3 separate regions of the Homo sapiens genome follow, and regions 1 and 3 are each linked to region 2. Evidence: promoter capture Hi-C in human tissues and cell types (Jung and others, 2019). All regions are on one chromosome and are shown on one strand. The core of a region is centred on a gene start or on the middle of the fragment in contact, and the rest is flanking DNA. Distances in the headings are between cores, read along the strand shown. Region 1 has its middle 400 kb from the start of FIGN. Region 2 holds the start of FIGN (fidgetin, microtubule severing factor). Region 3 has its middle 370 kb from the start of FIGN.

Region 1 (3,673 bases), core at 1,148-3,647, 400 kb after region 2:
ATTCTGAAGCCATCCACTCCCCGAACCTCCAATCCATGGAAAAATTGTCTTCCATGAAACTTGTCCCCTGTGCCAAAAAGGTAGAGGACCACTTCTCTACAGATAACCTCCTATCCAGCTATGACTAATTAGACAAGGTGTGGGCTCCTGCCACAGGGCCGTCACGTAACCTTACTCCTTAGGGTAGAATTAATTGGCTCAAAGATAAAACTCTAAAGAATGCTGGGTTATCATAGGCTTTTGTAAGGTTTTATTATTTTGTTCCAATAAGAATCAGGCAAGTATATTCAGTTCTTCTCTCCCAGTGAAACTATGTAGCCTTAGAGGACTGGACATGTCCTCTCACATATGGAAGAAATAGTACAGTAGGAGGAAAAAGAAAGTCAAATAATGTGTACTGGGAGCAAAAGGTTCCTAATACCACTTGTCCCTATGTGTTGGCTGCTACCTATTGGTTTAAATGTGTAAACTCATATGTGTCCCTTTTGCATAGGTGAATTTTCTTTGGCTTTCAGTCACTTGCATCAAAAAGGAATATAAATAATATTTAGAATCTTGTTTTGTGTTGTTTCTGAGATAGCAAGAAGCTCTCTATTAAATGATGCAGTGAAAGAGTAATAAACGACTAATAGGAGTACAACTACACTTACTGTAAATATAAATAATATTTAGAATCTTGTTTTGTGTTGTTTCTGAGATAGCAAGAAGCTCTCTATTAAATGATGCAGTGAAAGAGTAATAAACGACTAATAGGAGTACAACTACACTTATTGTAAATATAAATAATATTTAGAATCTTGTTTTGTGTTGTTTCTGAGATAGCAAGAAGCTCTCTATTAAATGATGCAGTGAAAGAGTAATAAACGACTAATAGAAGTACAACTACACTTATTGTAAATATTTATATTTTATGCTTTCATTTTATTGTATTGTACATGTAATACGGTATTATTATATCCCATGATATATATTATATTTTGCCTATTTCTGTAAAGCCTTAAGTTTGTATTCTTAATGATGTTTATTAAGCACATAAGCTCCAAGAAGGTAAAACACGAAAATGCTAAAATTACTCTTTATAGTGGCTATTCATACTCTTGAGGATGCTTATTGTTTGAGAAAACATTGTGGAGAACAGCAAAGTTTCAATTCTTAGTCTAACAAATATTTACTATGTACCTACTCTGTGCCAGACAGGTGATAAGCAACATAGAAAAGATTATTGCATTAGGGAAATTATAAGCATGTTCTATAAGACAATAAATGAGTAAGCAATAAATAAACTAGATTATTTCAAATGTTGCTAAGTGCTATGAAGGCCAGATATGACAGAGACCTAATGTGACAGAGAGTAACGGAAATGGAAGAGTTTTGGACTGGAAAGTGAGGAAAGGCTTCTTTGAGAAGGAGAAAGGCAGGCAGACAATGGAATGGTAAGAAGGAGCTAGTCTTTGGGAGAGCATTCCAGATCCCGAAGCTGTAATGAACTTGGTATTCCGGGGAAACAGAAAGCTAGAGAGGCTGAATTATACTAAAGGAGGAGGAGTGTGATACAAATTAATAATACTATAGCTGGTCCCTGGACTAATAGAGGAGAGAAACTAAGAAGAAATTTGAGAAATAAGAATGCCCCTGAGCACTCCTAAAAAGATTCTTTGATTAAATGAATCTGAGACAGATAGAGAATAGAAAAAAGTCATTCTTAGTTATGTGTTTTCATCTTCCTATAGTTGGGATTGTCTTCCAATTATAAAATTAGCAGCTCTTTGTCAAAAGCTTTATCTGCTTGGAAACATTTTATAAACACCTCCCAGTGTTCTTTACATCACCTAAATTGCCCTCAAATATCCTCAACATCATGTAAAACGTGATGTTATTCTGTACTTCCTTGCCACAACTTGCTAGAGTCCTGATAGAGACAGAGCCCTAAACTCTAAGAATGTCAAGGTGGGAAGGAAGCTTGATCGGCTGATCTTGTGTTTGTCAATGAGGGGCATGCATCAGAATCCTTTATGGAACATTTTAAGATTATGCAACTGAGCTCCACTTTCTAAGACTATGATTCAGACAACCTAGGCATGAGATCTAGTAGTGTATATAGCAATTAAACAGTTTTAAAGCTAGAAGTGTTACATATTCCTAATTGAGAGACTCATTTTTCAGTAATAAAAAGAGCAACCAGAGTTAGAACCAGAACTTTTACCTCCTGATTTTGAAGTTTTCATCACCTTCCCCCCCAATTGTACATTTTATTCTTCCTAACAGTCTGTATTGAATAGTTACAAAAAATGGACTTATAGCCCAAAGATTCCCACTTTAATTTTCTTTAGCATCTTTGGATCATGCAATTTTAGAGTTAGAAATCTTTGCAACATCAGTTATCAGTGTGGGCAGTCAAAGAGAAGAAAGGAAGAAAAAGGACTTGAGTAGTCCAAATAGATGAAATTATTTCCCATGGTCATGCAAGTTTCCCTTAGGCCTACTCTAGGCTTTTGACCACTTTTGTAACTTTTCATAATGACCCAGTGTAGAGAAAAAACATGACATATATTTGACTAGTATGGAAACATTTGTGGATTGAGGAAGTGGAGAAGAAATGGTGTTTACCCTTCAACAAAACCTAATTATAATTATGCTTATTAGTTAATGTGCATAATGCCATTCTTCTTTTACCTAGACAGGGACTAAACATTAATTTTTTTCTGAATGAATAATTCTCACCTTGTGTCTGAATACTTAAAGTGACTTAAAATATAGAGGGTTTTCTATGCTGGACCAAATTTCCTAGTCTCTTTTTGGCTGTCACTTGTCCCTGCCTCTGAGAAATGAAGTATAAAAGCAGCTAAGAGTCTGCTCATTCCTCTGAAGCCAGAGGTAGAAGCTATTTGGAAGACATTTTGTTTCATCTCTTTTTAAACTTCTTTAAAAATATTTCTAGAGAGGGTAGCTAATAATAAGATAGGTAGGTGGACGCCAGGGAGTTAACTAAAATGTTCAGAATAGCACTGAGTACAATCACATTTAAAAATAGAGAGAACAAGCCAGGAACAAAACCCCACTAACTCAGTATATCTAGTTCAGATGTGGCTAATGTCCCTATTTAGCATCTTCAAGTTGCTCACATTTTCCTCAGCAAACTAAGAATGCGTCTCTAGCACTGCGGAGCCTGCCAAGTCCAAGGACATGGGAATGTGAATTATCAAACAAGCTGGGGATGAAAGGTGCTGAAATCATCTTTTTAGAATATTGCCAAAAAGCAGCTTGAGTTTTTAGGGTGCTAATTGCTGAAATATGTTTTAACTTCCGAATTCATTCTAAGCTTGTGACCCACTAACCAAAAAGTAAGAAGGATGTTGTCAAAAAAAAAAAAAAAAAATTTAAAGCCCAGCAATAAGAGGGAGCAGGGTAAGGAAGGCTTCCTGGAAAGCCACTTTATACCAAAAGAAGTGTATTTTATATGTGCCATATGGCTACACAATTATAATTGACCACCACAGTAATTCAGTCCTTTACTGATTTTCTCAGCCTATGTCTTTTCTGAACAGGGATAGGTTAGCCACGATCTTGAAAGTGAGGCAATTTGATAGCCAATTTGAATTCATTGTTCTTCTTATTACTGTATCTCTTAACTTTTCTCAAAAGTTATATATGCCCTTTACCTCATTTCAACCTC
Region 2 (3,641 bases), core at 901-3,400:
TTATTTCTTTTTTCATATTCTCTCTTTCCTTCTTTCTCTCTTTTCAGGAGGAATTAACGGTCATGGGGTAAACATAGCAACAACCAAAAAAAAAAAAAAAAAAAACAGTCTAAAGTGGACATATCCTTTGGTTATGCAAAATACTTTAACATCTTTTTGTTGTTGTTGTTCCCTCTGTCTTAATTGAATATTACAAAGTGTACACAGGGCACTGCCACAAGAGCTATTGAAAATCCCCTCTCACTCCATTTAACTGACTTTTTTTTTTTGTAAAGAAAGGAAAGAGCGATTTCAAACGAAGTCAATTTCAGTGCCTGATTATTTAATTCTGTCACAAGTTAAAAGTAAAAAGCGCTGACAGGCAGACGAGTGAATGGAAAGGGGGAAGAAAAACCTATCCCTACTCTTTAAAAGACATCAAGGACTTTGGACAATCAAAATATAATTTTTATTTTCATGTAAAAGACACCTCTTCACTTACCCGCCCCCCCCAAAAAAAAACCACACTCAGAAGAACTGATTACTCCACAAAGTGCAAACATCAAGAGCAGATAGTCAAACTGCATTAATAGATTGAGAAAAATAAAATTTTCATCCAGTCCTGTTCCTGTGTGTGTACATATATATAGATACACTTTCATTAGTTAGTAATCTTTCCCAACACTCCTGCCCTCTCCCCTTTGCCCAGCCTCCCTCCTTCAAAAAAAAAAAAAAAAAAAACCCACACTGAGTTTAACTAATTTACATACTATTTGACTTCAGCAGTTATATATATATAGTGCATTACTAGTAACGTGCAACTTCTGGATGACAGCTAAAACCGATAAAAGTGGATTCAAGTAATATATTAATCAAAACTGCAATATACAAACAAGTGATAGCAAAAGAAAAAAAAGCATGGTGACATTAAACATATATTTTTTAAAAAAAGGAATTCTATATCATGAGCAACTGCTTGCCAGGCAGTCTTCAATGGTTTTATCATGCTATTTCATTTGTCTTTCCTATTTAGATGCAAAGGAAGTAAATTCCAAAACTGACATACCATAAACACTGGTGCTACTGATCATTTCTTGCTGGCAGCACAAAAAGCTGAATTGGATTTCTCACAAGCAGGAATTCCAAAGGTTGCTTTTCATTAAAGCCACTTTTCCTCTCAGCTATCAAATGTCACTGCCTTGAAACGTGGGCCCTTTCGTCAGGTATTCATTTAACCTACATGCATATAATTAAGGGGGAAAGCAACATCAACAAAAAGGGGATCTCAGATCACAGGAGAAGAAAGAAAGGAAAAAAAGCACATGACCAGGAATGCAAGTCCATGTCAATTTCACTCACTCCCATTGAAACTAACAAGAGCTCCGGGGAGGACGGTAATAGGATCAGTGGATTGTATATACCATTAAATTATACATCTTTCTCTCCCGTTCCTTGCCAACAATACGCCCACCACGCTGTACCCCCTCCTAGATGATGTGCTTACATTTTTCTGCAACCGATCTTCTGACATTTTCTCGTTCCCCCAGCCACGAGATTGTAATTTAACCTCAACTTTTTGTGTGTGTGCAAGATTCTTATTTACACTTCTTATTTACTTAGAAGTTAGTTCCCGAAGAAAGTCTAGCCCCACCCTATGGCTCCGCTTTCTTATTTTTTTATTTTTGAAGTAAAAAGATAGTAATAAGTAAGCCCAATATAGCGAAAAGCGAGATTCTTGCAATCGCGAACTCTTAATCCCATACTATTGTTACAATGATTAAGCAGCAAAAATATGCATTATAATGTTTCAGGGCTACTTTGAACAGAGAAATTAGACAGCAGGTTGGCGTACAGAATAGAAACGAGTGGAAATTGAATTTAATGTTTACGGCACAACTGAAGATCTCTTTTAATTACAGGTCTTGGATGTATTTATATTCTTTAAAAATAAAACAAAAACAAATTTAAACAGATGGTAGAAAACTACGAAGCTCCTCTTACCTGAACGCGCGGAGAGAGAACCCGATAGGTTAGCGTAGCATCGATCCGATGTGTTTGCTGATGAATGGAAGCTAGGGTTAAGTGAAGGTGCCTATGATTTGAAATCATTCCAAGTTTTTGAAGGGAAGACGGACTGCAGCCTCTGCCATGTTGGAATTTCAAACCCAAAACAGCTGCTTGGAAGGAGCCAGCATGCCAGAGGCTGGGCGCAGGCGCAGAGCGCCGCAGAGCCAAATTCAAATCACTTTCACACTAAGAGCCAAAGATCAGTTTTCAAAGGAGAGAGGGAGAAAGAGACGGAGGCTGCCGTGAGGGAGAGAAGACGGGAGGCAGTGGCGAGAGGCGGGCAGTGGAGAGAGACGGGCAGCGGGAGGACCAGGAGGGAGAGGGAGAGGCGCACGGAGCCCGCGGAGCTGGAGGGGGAGAAAGGGAGGCGGGAGGCGAGCCGGCGAGCGAGCTAGAGACGCGCCAGAGATTCATGGGCAGGGAGGGCTCAATGGCCGCGCCGCGCCGGCCGGCCGGCCGCTCGGGTCATGTTACACGGCCGGGGCCGCGGCGGCCGCCCAGCCTCGCCGATGCGCTCACGCGGCCCGGAGGGGGCCCCGAGGTCATGATTACGCGCGCGGGGACTCGCAGCTCTCCCTGCACGCACTCTCTGGCGGCCCAGCCTGGGGAAAGGGGAGCAGCGCCGTAGGGGGAAGGGGGCTTTCTTTCCCACGCGTGACCAGCCGGCCCCTGCGCTCCCCGGCCTGCGTTGGAGGGCCCGGGACAGAGCCGCGCTGCTCCCCGGCCCGCGGGCTCTTCCCTGCCGGTTCCCGGCCCTCTCGACAGCTGCGGCCCGTCCGCCCTTCCCCACCCCCTCTGCGCACGGGACGGGATCTGGTCTCGAGAGCCTGGACCTCACCGGCACCCTCCCCGGGGCCCCCAGCACCAGCCAGAAAACGACTTGATCTGCTTAGAAGAGGCAACTTCGGGGAGAAAATTCGCGTTCGCCCAGTTCCCCTCCCCCGCCTCCCTGTGAATAAATAAAATCCTAAGTGTCTAGGTGTGCGGTCCCCTCTCGCGCTCCCTGGCTCCCCTCCCTACCTCCCCCAGGCGGCTCGGGCTGGAGAAAGCAGCGCCCGGGGGGCCCTGGTGTCGGCGGCTGGTGCGCAGGCATAGACGTTAGGCTTCTGCCTTCCCAACCCCCCTCTATGGAGTAATCTGGGGACCCAGGAGTGGGAAGAGAGTAGGGGCTTTGTGGTGCTGGGAGCCGAGGAAGAATGAAATGTGCAGTTGAGTGTGTTGCTCGCATCCCAGGGAGCAATGCAGTGCTGATTGTCTGTTGCTGAGATAGCCTTTTGTTCGGAACATAAGGTTTAAGAAACACACACACGTTTTCTGGGGTCTCTTGTTAGATGTAAATGTGCGGCATCCAGACGCTTACTATGCAGTGTAAGCTCAGTTGGTTTACTAATCACCCCGCCCCACCCGCAAACAATCAGGATCATTTGAATGGGAACCTCATTCAGACTTCTAGGCTGAGAGTATTGCCTTCAACCTATTTCATTCTAGACTAGCCAACCATCCAACTGAGATAATAAAGCAAACAATAACATTTGATCATGATGTCTACGAGATAATGTGCCCGGCAAAGTTCTTTAGGAATTGTAATGAGAAAG
Region 3 (3,390 bases), core at 826-3,325, 370 kb before region 2:
TGGGCTTTTCCCATCTTTTTTCTTCATGCTTTTCCATATTGGAAGTTTCTATTAATATTTCTTCAAGCTCAGACATTTTTCCTCAGCCATATCCACTCTACTAATGAGCCCATCAAAGGCATTCTTCATTTCTGTTACAGTGGGTTTTGTTGTTGTTGTTTTGTTTTGCTTTTAGAGACAGGGTCTCACTCTGTCACCCAGACTGGAGCGCAGTGATGCAATCGTAGTTCACTGATGCCTTGAACTCCTGGGCCCAAGTGATCTTCTCGCCTCAGCCTCCCAACGTCCTGGGATTACAGGCATGAGCCACCACACCTGGCTTTTTATAGTGATTTTTGTCTTTGGTATTTCTTTTTGGTTCTATCTTGGAATTTCTATCTCTCTGCCTACATTGCCCATCTATTCTTACATGTGTCTGCTTTATCCATTAGAGTCCTTGGCCTATAAGTCATAGTTTTAAAATTCTGAGTCTGATAATTTCAACATCCCCGCCATATCTGAGTCTGGTTCTGATACTCTTTCTGTTCTTTCAAACTATATTTTTTGCCTTTTAATATGCCTTGTAAGTTTTTTTTTTTTTTTTTTTTTTTTTACAGCCAGACTTCTTGTACTGGGTGAAAGGGACTGTGGTACATAGGCATTTAGTGATGTGGTGGTAAGGTATGGAGAGAGGGGGGGTGTTCTATAGTTCTATGATTATGTCTCAGTCTTTTAGTGGGCCTGTGCCCCTGAACTGTGAACTTCACAGGTACTTCTGAGTCAGCCCCAACTTAGATGGGGCAGGATAACTACAGTGGGTAGGAATTGGGTCTTTCCCTTTTTCCTAGTCATTTAGACTCTGACAAAATCCCAATAGTTTGGCTCTGAAAAAATAGTTTCTCTTGAGGGAAGTCCTTGTTAAGAAGAACAGAATGTCCTGTCATATTTCAAAATGATTCCTTCTCTCTTTTCTTGTCTGAAGCATGAGGAAATTTTTCTCCAATATTTACTGTGAGAACCTGGTTAAGTTCCTGGAGGTAAACTCACTTAAGTGTAGGGCCTCTTCTATGACTGGGGTCCCCTGGATTTTTTTAAATCTCAGGAGTGTCTAGTCTTCACCTCTGGCCATTCATCAAGGACAGTTCATGTTCTCTTACCCCCAAAACTAGTTCTTAAGGAGGTTTCTGCTAGGGGGCTTCTGCCCTAGTAGTTGTGATTATCTGTATCTGCCTGTCTGTCTCCAATTTTGGGGGGAGCAGTTTGCCTTGTGACTTCACCTCCTTGATGGACCAAGAGCTGTTATTCCATTTGTTCAGTTTTTTTACTTGTTGTTAGGATGGAGTGATAATTTCTATACTCCTTACATGCTAGCCTTGAAACAAACATCACAGCTGTTTTGGTTTTTTGTTGTTGTTGTTGTTGAGACAGAGTCTCGCTCTGTCACCCAGGCTGGAGTGCAGTGGCGTGATCTCGGCTCACTGCAAGCTCCGCCTCCCGGGTTCACGCCATTCTCCTGCCTCAGCCTCCCGAGTAGCTGGGACTACAGGCGCCGGCCACCACGCCCGGCTAACTTTTATTTGTATTTTTAGTGGAGACGGGGTTTCACCGTGTTAGCCAGGATGGTCTCAATCTCCTGACCTCGTGATCCACCCGCCTCAGCCTCCCAAAGTGTGGGATTACAGGCGTGAGCCACCACGCCCGGCCCACAGCTGTTTTTTAGATAAACTGGAAACATTTGTTCAAACATTTGTCTCGCTCTGTCACCCAGACTGGAGTGCAGTGGCGCGATCTTGGCTCATTGCAACCTCCACCTCCCAGGTCCAAGTGATTCTCCTGCCTCAGCCTCCCAAACAGCTGAGATTACAGATGTGGGCCGCCATACTTGGCTAATTTTTGTATTTTTAGTAAAGACAGAGTTTCGCCATGTTGGCCAGGCTGGTCTCGAACTCCTGGCCTCACGTGATCTATCTGCCTTGGCCTCCCAAAGTGCTGGAATTACAGTCATGAGCCACCACACCTGGCCTCAATTACATTTCATAAAGATAATTTTAGAAGAAAAAATGTGCTATTGAGTTGTATTTTATTTTAATTTTATCTAGTTGCAGTTTTAATATTTATTGAATAATGATTACAGACAATTTAAATTGATATTTATAACTTTATAATACCAATCTCAGATATAAAGCAAGTCATATCATCATGCCATCATATTCCTTTACTATTGGTCATTTCTTTACTATTTTAGTTGAAAACAACAGAAACTTTCTCTCATTATCTTAAACAGACAAGGAATTTATTGGAAGGCTGTAAACACAAATAATATCCAGAAAGACTGGGACACAAGGCCTGGCAAGAATCCAAGACAGGAAAGGCACAGCCCAAATCTTCTATTTCTGTTTAGAATGTCACCTAAGGACACCTAAAAACTACAGAGGATAACACTGCTAAATCCTTAAGTCCACCAGATTTTCTATAAAAATAACCCTGATCAGACTGATTGCCTTTGTCACCTGCTCACAAGATTCAAACTCTCAGATAGAAACACCTGACTAGGCACACATAGCTCACTTGTCCTCCTCTCTGGAAGGAGGTAGAGGTGAATTATTTGCCAACACTTCTATCATTACCATTGGGTTCCCATGCATTTGATTATGCCTTCCTGTCCCATTTATAGAGACCAGAACTAAGCAGCACAGCCAAAACAACAAATGCCTCTGTACTTTTTTATTTGACCATGGGGAAATAAGTTGGCATTTCTAGTCTAAATAAATAAGGTGCTGAAATGTACAGAGTCCACTCTTGGCATAGGATTTGACATAAACAGTATGCGTTAAATAAATGTTTGTTGAATTGAATTCTGTGTAAATAGAGGCAGTATTACAAATAATGAAAAATGTTGCAAACTGTGAGCATCATTTACATTTGCCATTGGAATTTACTATGTGATTTTTATAACAAATTTACCCCTAATTGTGCTTAAACTAGTAAAAAACATAAATCTATATTAGTAATAAAAATAAAACTAGCAATTCTCTGAGCTTATACCACCCAGTCATCATGGAGGAAGGTAGCTCAGAAGCCTGCTGAGTGGCATTAACCATTTACACCAAGCTTGTTCAACCCACGGCCTGAGGGCTGCATGCGGCCTAGAACGGCTTTGAATGTAGCCCAACACAAATGTATAAACTTTCTTAAAACATTATGAGGTATTTTTGCAATTTTTTTAGCTCATCTGCTATGGTTAATGTTCATGTATTTTATGTGTGGTCCAACACAATTCTTCTTCTTCCACTGTGGCCCAGGGAAGCCAAAAGATTGGACACCCCGATCTACACAGAGATAATCAAAGGCTGGTTAACCAAAGATTAAGACATTTCCAAGAGTTTATTGTGGTTGGAAGGACCTCTAGAG

The links. The method cuts DNA at HindIII sites, captures the fragments that hold promoters and counts their contacts. A contact is called where the count stands out against the background at its distance.
Region 1: a fragment that was not itself captured here is called in contact with the fragment with the promoter of FIGN in region 2 in 3 of the 25 tissues and cell types used here (aorta, heart left ventricle and mesenchymal stem cells).
Region 3: a contact is called between a fragment that was not itself captured here and the fragment with the promoter of FIGN in region 2, in 1 of the 25 tissues and cell types used here (dorsolateral prefrontal cortex).

The regions. Positions count from the first base shown.
Region 1 is chr2:164,131,407-164,135,079 of GRCh38, forward strand. No RefSeq gene overlaps it. Among named protein-coding and RNA genes, the nearest start is that of FIGN, 400 kb to the left of the region's middle. The HindIII fragment of the contact is 3,855 bases long and covers 471-3,673 here.
Region 2 is chr2:163,733,858-163,737,498 of GRCh38, forward strand. FIGN (fidgetin, microtubule severing factor) reads right to left here and starts at 2,151. Exons shown (of 3, transcript NM_018086.4): 1 at 1,981-2,151; 2 at 1,046-1,215. The coding sequence starts at 1,070. It overlaps LOC107985957 (a long non-coding RNA gene), which reads right to left and starts at 84. Exons shown (of 2, transcript XR_001739759.2): 1 at 1-84. RefSeq lists enhancers at 2,758-3,274, 3,275-3,641. The HindIII fragment of the contact is 21,926 bases long and covers 1-3,641 here.
Region 3 is chr2:163,365,303-163,368,692 of GRCh38, forward strand. No RefSeq gene overlaps it. Among named protein-coding and RNA genes, the nearest start is that of FIGN, 370 kb to the right of the region's middle. The HindIII fragment of the contact is 3,099 bases long and covers 527-3,390 here.